Linked DNA regions of Homo sapiens: region 2 is linked to region 1. The links are contacts of gene promoters, found by promoter capture Hi-C in human tissues and cell types (Jung and others, 2019). All regions are on one chromosome and are shown on one strand. The core of a region is centred on a gene start or on the middle of the fragment in contact, and the rest is flanking DNA. Distances in the headings are between cores, read along the strand shown.

Region 1 (4,056 bases), core at 741-3,240:
ACTTTGTTGTCTAGCTAGCATGTGTCACTGCTGTGGCTCCTTCCTTGAGCTTATCATTCTCTGTCATTTTCTTGTTCTTTACTTAGCTGTTTACTGTTTCCCTTTCACTGAGATACGTTCCAAGAGAGCCCAAACTGTGTTGTTTTTGTTAAACTCAATTCTCCATGGGTTTCCTGTGTTTGTACCCATCTTCAGAGCAAAGACACTGACAGATTTTGTTCCAGACAATCTTCCAAGGACATCTGTAGGGCAAATATCCTGAGAGGATAGGGATAGTGTCCCTATCCAGGGCAGAGTGCAGATTTATGATAAAAATGTCATCTCTGGCTGGGCACGGTGGCTCATGCCTGTAATCCTAGCACTTTGGGAGGCCCAGGTGGACGGATCACCTGAGGTCAGGAGTTTGAGACCAGCCTGGCCAACATGGCGAAACCCTGTCTCTACTAAAAACACAAAAAAATTAGCCGGGCATGGTGGCTTGCACCTGTAGTCCCAGCTAATCGGAAGTCTGAGGCAGGAGAATCACTTGAAACCGTGCAGCAGAGGTTGCAGTGAGCTGAGATTGTGCCACTGCACTCTATCTAGCTTGGGAGACAGAGCAAGACTCTGTCTCAATTAAAAAAAAAAAAAAAAGGTCATCTCCTTCCAGGGCAAAGGTTGGGCACTGGCTAGCAGCCCCTTTTAAAAGACTGGAGTTTCCTGAGCTTGGGGTTCCTTAGCTGGGAAACAGACTCGCAGTGTGCACAGCATCCACCTGAGCTGTCCTGCATCACCCCGGGGTACTTGCAGGGCAAGGGGAACCAACGCAAACATGAGCTCACAGTGCCTGCTGTGCTGTGAGTAATAACATCCTTTGTCTCTGGTCCTGGAGTCTCTGGTCTTCTGCTAGCATCATTAAGCAGTGGCAGGCTAACTTAGCTTGCAAGTAGTGTAAAAATCTCAGACCCTTTGCATTTCCTCACAGTCTGTTCATTACTCCCCTCTGGCCCCCAGCGCTGCCATGCCTGACACATAGTGGTGCTCAGTAAATCATGAATGAATGAAAGTACAAAACAATGCTTAAAAGTAAGTCAGGGTAGCCTAAGAACCTCTGACAGTAACTACCTTTCATTTTCCCCTTCAGTATTTATCCTAGATGACATTCTGGAAAAAAAAAAAAAAGTCTATTTCTTTAGCTGAATGGGTTGGGCCCTATTTCCCCACTTTAATCTTGCCCTGTGCAGTCACTTTCCTACCTGAAAACACTGTAGAAAGTGATTAGATGCGTTAAACTCTGTAAATTAGTTCTAAGACACAGGGCACCGACCATGCAAAAGAGCAAAAGAGCTTCAGGCATCTGCACTCCCTGCTTATAGGTCACAAGTGAGATAGAGAAGCAAAATTTCTGTTGAGGGGTTACCAGATCTTAAGTGGCCTGGGAGCCCTAGAAATTCCTCAGTGTTGTATTTGGGAAGGGAGAGGTTAGGCAAGGGGGGAGTCTCTCTGACCGCCGGGTGGGTGTCGTTCGTAAGTCAGGGGCAGCAGGGATGCCCCTCCTAATCCCAGCTGTAACCCCCAGGACTTCCCAGAGTGGCATGGCTGGTGCCAAGGAGGGTCTAAGGCTCCCGGGGGCTTCCTCCGCGGGCGGGGTGGGGCCTGCATCTGGAAAGGAGGGGCTGGTGTTGGGGTAGCTACTGGGGTGCTCCTGGGGACCGGAGCCTGGATCCAGGAGGATGGGGCCGGGGAGCCACCCCTCCTCCTGCCAGGGCTAGTCCTCGCTGGGCCGCCCCTTCCGGTCCCCGGTCTCGGCCCGCCACCCCTTCCCGCGCCGCACTCACCTGGCGGGAGGAGGAAGCCCACGCTCCGACCTCCGCCGAGAGCCCTGCCAGCTCGGGAGGCGTCGGGCCAGCTCCGGGGCGAAGCCTCCCGGCCGCGCTCCCGCGGAGTCTCCAGCTCGCACCCGGCACCCCGCCCGCCCGGCCGGCCTGTGTACGCGCGTTGCCATGGCAACGCCGCCAGGCGCCGCGGGGTCCAGCCTAATAGATGAGGGCGTGGCCTGCGCGGCAGAGGGGGCGTGGCACCGTGCAGGGAACGCCCACTGGGTTACCGCCTGCTGAATGCTCCAGGCCCCACGAGCCTGCCCCATTTCACAGATAGGAAAGCGGAGGCTCAGAGGTCACAGAAATGGCCCAAGGTTTTACAGCGAGGAAGGAGCAGGGAGGAGATTTGATTCAAGAATCCTTTCCATTACCCCTCACTGTAAGCTGGATGCGTTGAGGGAGGGTCGGGGGCGATAGGGAGAGGTAGGAGATTGATGGAGCTGAACTCATGAGACCCTTGGAGGTTAGTATGCCCCCTGCCCTACCCAAATCTCTAGTCCTTTCCGTTACAGGCCAGAAAATAGAAAGAGTAAGAAGAGGGGATCTCTGGGAGTGGGGTGGGGATTGGGAAAGGGATGGGGTGGAATGAAAAATTTTGAAAGAATGAGGATTTCTTCCATGTGCTGGGGAAAAAATATTTCCAAACTCACAATCCTGCTGCCTCTGCTCCTCCCTGTTAAGAGTGACATTTATTCATTCTTTTGCCCTTTCTCTATCTCTGCAAACATCTTTTGAGTCCTATGAGTGTCACACGCTGATCCCAGAATACACCTGGAACAGTTACTGTCCTTAAGAAACCGCTTGTCAGCCGGCACAGGACTCGCGGGATGGAGTGTGTTGAGCAGATGTGCAAATCCTATCTCCCGCCACTATCTCCAGCAGGAAATCCTATCTCCTGCTGACTCTACCTGGAGAGTGATTCCTTTCACTGGCAGGAAATGGCTGACCAGACACCTCAAGAAAAACTCTAAACGTTTTTCTAAGAGAGATGAACTATGGCACATTCTACCCTAGTGATACGGTTTGGCTGTGTGTCCCCACCCAAATTTCATCTCGAATTGCACTCCCCACGTGTTGGAAGAGGGGCCTGGTGGGAGGTGATTGAATCATGGGGGCAGACTTCCCGCTTGCTTTTCTCATGATAGCGAGTGAGTTCTCATGAGATCTGATGGTTTAAAAGTGTGGCACTTCCCCCTTTGCTCTCTCTCTCTCCTGCTACACCATGTTACAACATGCTAGCTTCCTTGCTTCCCCTTGGCCTTCCGCCATAACTGTAAGTTTCCTGAGGCCTCCCTAGCAGTGCAGAACTGTGAGTCAATTAAACTTCTTTTCTTTGTAAATTATTCAGTCTCAAGGAATTACTTTATAGCAGTGTGAGAACAGACTAATACACCTAGTCAATAGGAAGAGGATCTGAGAGAGAAATCATGGACATCGATTTGTGGTGGAATATACAGTGAAGATGCTCAAACGTGCCTGGAGGCTTTTAGAAATGCGGACTTCTGGGCACAGACCCCAGAGATTCTGATTTAGCAGGCCTGGGACATAATCCAGGAATGTGCATTTGCAACAAGCTTGACAAAACCCTGATTTATGCAGCTGAACTGCAGAGACCTCTCCCGGAGCCTGTCCCTACAAATCTCTTCCAGGCCCTCAGTCTGGAAGGTTCTGCCTGGATCAGTTTCCTACAACCAGAAAGATTCTAGGCGTAAAATGTTAGGAGGGACCACAAGGGCTGGGACCCAAGTGATGGCTTCACAGGAACAGAGAGGGTCAAGCTCAGCTTCCCACACGTTTCTGCCTCAGAGCCTTTGCTCTTGCCCATTCCTCTGCCTGGAATGCACTTCCCCTCAAGAGTCTCCTTTGCCTTCTTTACTTTAGCTTTTTACTCACATATCATCTTTTCTAAAATTGGTTTTTTGAAACAATGAAACAACCACCATGAAATCTAATAAACAACAAAAAAGAGCAAATAAAAACAATAAGAACAGCAAAAGCAAATAAAAATAAGAACAACAAAAGCAAATAAAAATAAGAACAACAAAAGCACATCCAAACAAAATAAAAACCTCAACACTCTATCCCTCTTCCCTTCTTTTTGCCACTTGCTATAGTTAGAATATTTGACCCCTCCAAATCTCATGTTGAAATTTGCTCCTCAGTGTTGGAGGTGGGGCCTGGCGGGAGGTGCTTGGAT
Region 2 (4,601 bases), core at 1,772-4,271, 170 kb after region 1:
ATACCATTTCCTTTGCCTTTCCCCCCAGCTCAGCCCTTCCCTGTTCTACTTGTTTTGACAGCCAAGGAAGATGATACCATTATTCACTTGGATATTCCTTTGGGAAGCCTCAGTTTCTCTTGCCTTCCCCCAGGAATAAAGGGGCAAAGGGCACATTTCAGATGGGAAGTGAAGGCTCAGAGGGGTCCCCCGATGTTTCCAGCAGGCTAGTGTGGGAGCTCTGCTTCAACCCTGAATTCCCCGCCTCCCAGTGTAGAAGAACCTATGTGAGCAGCCCTCTCGCCTGTTCTTGAACGCCTGTGCTTGGTTACATAACATTGGCAAGGATTGCTCAAACTGGCAAGAGGCAGGATGGTGTGTGGGGTGTGGGAAGATACTCTCACAGGCTGGGAAATGGCTCCTGGCCCTGCCTGCCAGGCTGGGGAACTTGAAGCCAGCCATGACTCAGAGTGAGAGACAGACACAGAGAGAGACAGAGAGACAGGCCTAAGCACCGAGACAGACTTGATGGGATCCAAAGGCCTGTGATCGGGAAAGACAGGCCGATGTTCACATGGGTGTTGCCACTGAACTTGGGGCTCTGCGTGTCTGTCCATCCTTTGGACTGCTCTACCAAACCGTACAGTGCCTGCATATTCATTCTATGACCAGAGACACTCATGCCTAATGCTTACTAAGCTACCGGGGACAGGTGGCATGGAAAGGCGGGATGGAAGGATGGTAGACTTTGGCGGGGGTGAGCCCTGGGCTGGAGTGACACAGGCAGCCTGGAGCCAGAGGTGATGGCCGGACAGGCCCAGTGCACCATTCACCAGTGTCTGGGAGAAGCTTTGAGAAGGTTTTGCTATGTACTACTTTCCACCATTTTTGCCCTGAAACAGTCCCCCCTCCACCTAGCCTGAGGTTGACATTTGCAACTAAAAGGGGCTGCACAGGCTTGAGTCCACATGCCTGTCTAGGAGCCATCCAGAGCAAGGAAAGGTGCCTACCTCCGAAGAGTTTGGAGCACCCTGGTACTTGCTGCTCAAATGGCATCATGAATGGGGTCACCTGGGCCTCCCACCCAGTGGGATTCAGAATTCTAGGGCTAAATGGTGCCCTCAAGGTCACGTGGTCCATCCCACAGTCTTGCAGTAGGGCTGGGACTTAGAGGAGGGAGACTGCTCCTAGAGTGGTCTTTAGATCAGGGATGTCAGCTACCAGGGAGGTGGTTAAAAATGCAGAGGTAGGTCAATTGAAGTCAGGAGTTCGAGACCAGCCTAGCCAACATGAAACCCTGTCTCTCCTAAAAATACAAAAATTAGCCAGGTATGGTGGCACGCACCTGTAATCCCAGCTACTTGAGAGGCTGAGGCATGAGAATCGCTTGAACCTGGGAGGTGGAAGTTGCAGTGAGTCGAGATCATGCCACTGCACTCTAGCCTGAGCGACAGAGCGAGACTCCGTCTCAAACAAAACAAAACAAACAAAAACAAACTGCAGAGGCTTAGAGGTAAAGGCCTTGTAAATTCTCCTATGCCCACCCTGCATGGCGAGTGAGAGGGAGGTGGAATTCTTCATCCTGGTCCCGCATGTCCCTGACCTCAGAGTGCCATTGGCAGACACCCTTGGCAGCAGCTATGGGAAAGACTTAGTGCTCTAGCATTTTAATTAATTTTTTTTCTTCTTTTACTATTTAAAATTTTGAGTCTATACCCAGCCTGTGGCTGAGTGACCCATGCCCTGGGCTTCTGAGCCTCTTTTGATGTCTGCAGCATCAAGCACATTGGCACCTCCCTGGCATCTGCATCCCTGGGGTCAAATGTGTGCCTGGATGCAGAGCTCCCTGGAGCCTGATAGAAAAGCTTTAGTTGTAAATGTGTCTTGTGTGTCTGAGTTGGAGGTGGCGCAGGGAACCAGGCTTCCCTGGAGGTCAAGTGAGGTGGCTGAATGTGTCCCTGCACCTGGCTGGGCCTGTTGCTGCCCCATAGGGTCTCAGACCTCAGATAGGGGGGCTGAGCACTTGGACCTCGGCTGCCACTGAGGCAGAGTTGAGGCAGTGAGCTTGGTGAGGGCAGGCTAAGGTTGCAACGTCCCCTGCTGAATTCCATCACTCCTGAGTCTCCATCACCTGTCCCCTGTCTCAGTTGGCTCCACCATCTCCTATCTGGAGCACTCCAGCTGTATCTCAACACCCTACCTCCCTCTTTCTCTTTCATTCCATCCTCTTCAAGCCCAGAGGAAATTTTTTTAAAAAATGGTATCTTCCCAGGGACCTCTTCTGCTCATCATCCTTCAATGGCTCCCTGGTAAAGCCCAAGGTCCTTGCTGTGACCCACAGGCCGACCTTGCCAGCTTCATCCTTAGCTTCTCACCCCTGCCCTTGGCACCCTGGGCTTCCTGCATTTCCCCGATGCCCCTAATTCCCCCTCTCCAATCCCTGCACCTGCCGTTCCCTTGGCCTGAACAGCGGCCTGTCACTTTCCTCTGCCTGGTGAAGCTTACACAGGCTCAGGGCTCTGTTTCAATACTGATTATTTCAGGGACTCCTTTCCTGGTCACCTAGTGTGGGTACCCTACAACTCCCCAACACACACACTCACACACACACACACACACGCTGTCATTAATTCCTGGAACCTTTCCTGCATGACATCTCTCACAGCTGAAACGAACAGTTGTGTAATTATTCGATGAAAGTCTGTGTCTCCCACCAGACCATAAACTGCACATGAGCAGGCGCTGGGCCTGGTTTTGCTCCCTAGACATCTCTAGTCCCTAGCAAGGGCCCAACCACGTTTAACAACCGGCTCTTATATTTTCCAGAGGTACACTGGTTTTAGCATTTGCTTGCCAATTTCTGTGGTGTAAATACTCCTATTGTGGCCAATTTCAGTGACCGGCAGGCTGTCACTGGACGTGGAGTTGGGAAGAGAGCCATCCGTGGGCCTGTGTGAGCCAGCCCTGGCCCAGCACTGCCTGCAATTGAATGAGCCCTCTAAGTATTGAGTAAAAGAAGGCAGGAAGGGAGGAACGGAGGGAGGGAGGGAGCAGGCCTTCCTCTGTGGTCTCATCTTCTGCCAACCCCGCCTCGTCCACGCCTCTTCCAGCCACAGCAGGGTCACCTGTGGCCCCTCTTATGCAGTAGATGCTACCATTCTCTTGTCCCTCTGCCTACGGCAAGGCCTCTGAACTTTGGCACTCGGCATTTGGGGCCAGATTTCTTTGTCATGGGGCTGTCCCGTGCATCGTAGGACATGTAGCAGCATCCCTGGCCTCCAACCACAAGCTGCTGGGGAGCACCGAGTGTAGCTGCTCCCAGCGTCCCCAGCATGCCCTAAGGCACAGGGAGGGTCCTACTCCCTTCTACCCCGGGGCCTCTGTTCTCAGCCCAGCCCAGCTCTGTTCAGGCAGCCAACTACTGTCAACACTCCCTGCCCTTGGGAAGTGGCAGGGGAGCCTCCATCAGCACATGTAGCTCCAAAAGCTGAATTCTCATTTTTTAAACACTTCATGATAATGTGAAAAAACAACTTTTTATGGCCCGATCATGGCTGCCCTGTTGGATGTAGATGCTTTGCTGATCCCTCAGTCACAAGCCCCATGAAATACTTATGAAATGTGTGAAAGGCTTCTGTGGTAGCCCACAGGACCAGGGACAGCGTGGGTGTGAAGAGCATCAGGAGGAGAGCCTATCAGTCACTCACCACTGTGGCTGCTGGGGGCTGATGGCAGGACCCTTGGTGGGCAGCGAGGTGGCAGGGGCCCTGCCACCAACCTGCACCACCCCTGACCCCAGGGCCAGGCTCACCCTTGGGAGGCCCTGGGCTAAAACAGTGGTGGTACCTCCCACCCCAACGTGTCCCTATTTACGACATCATAAAGTAAATAGAAAAGTCCAGCAGAGTGCTGCTTTTACCAACAATAACTGCTTTATACTTTTAAAAAATCACATGGGCGCCCCCTCATTTTGGTGCCACCGTCTTGCAAAGGCCTAGACTTGTGCTTTTTCCCATGACCAGCCACCCTTCTCCCAACCTCGGAGGACATCCTCCTCCTTCAGTCCCTCCTGCCACACTCTGAAAATTTTCCAAAGGGCCAGGGAATTGAGATCCTGGGGTTGGCCAGGGTCCCCACTGCTCTGCACTCAGTTCCTAGGCAGGTACTTGACAAGTATTCTCTAAGTTTATGCACTTAGGAGGAAGCTGCTAAGAGGTCCAGGGAAGACAAACACATAGTTATCCAATGACAATGACTTTATGCTTTTACATATATATCTATACATCAAAAGCTTTCCTCTTTCTTCCTTGCTAACCTGTTCCACTGCTGCAGCAGCACCCACATTTGGGAAGTCCTTCTTATAGTCTCAATTGCAAGTGCAGCCGAAGCCCATCTTTCTCCAGCTGCTGGCCTCCTTGGGCAAGTCCCACACTGACTCCTCTTTTCTGACATGTTTTCCCGGCAGGCTTCTCTGCCAGTGGGCAGCCCTGAAAGGTGGATCCCATGAGAAGTGAGGGGGGGATCTTGACACAGGTGGCCAGGGCAAGAAGACCATCCTTCTCCACGCACCCATGCAGAGGCCGGGCACGTGTGCATCTGTACAGCTCTTGGAGGCAAAGCTG

What was found. The method cuts DNA at HindIII sites, captures the fragments that hold promoters and counts their contacts. A contact is called where the count stands out against the background at its distance.
Region 2: a contact is called between a fragment that was not itself captured here and the fragment with the promoter of FHAD1 in region 1, in 2 of the 25 tissues and cell types used here (IMR-90 fibroblasts and pancreas).

Annotation. Positions count from the first base shown.
Region 1 is chr1:15,245,157-15,249,212 of GRCh38, reverse strand. FHAD1 (forkhead associated phosphopeptide binding domain 1) reads right to left here and starts at 1,990. Exons shown (of 34, transcript NM_001391957.1): 1 at 1,818-1,990. RefSeq lists silencers at 1,725-1,964, 1,982-2,155. The HindIII fragment of the contact is 8,594 bases long and covers 1-4,056 here.
Region 2 is chr1:15,079,559-15,084,159 of GRCh38, reverse strand. The region is part of intron 8 of KAZN (kazrin, periplakin interacting protein); the gene reads right to left. Among named protein-coding and RNA genes, the nearest start is that of TMEM51-AS1, 71 kb to the left of the region's middle. The HindIII fragment of the contact is 3,369 bases long and covers 1,337-4,601 here.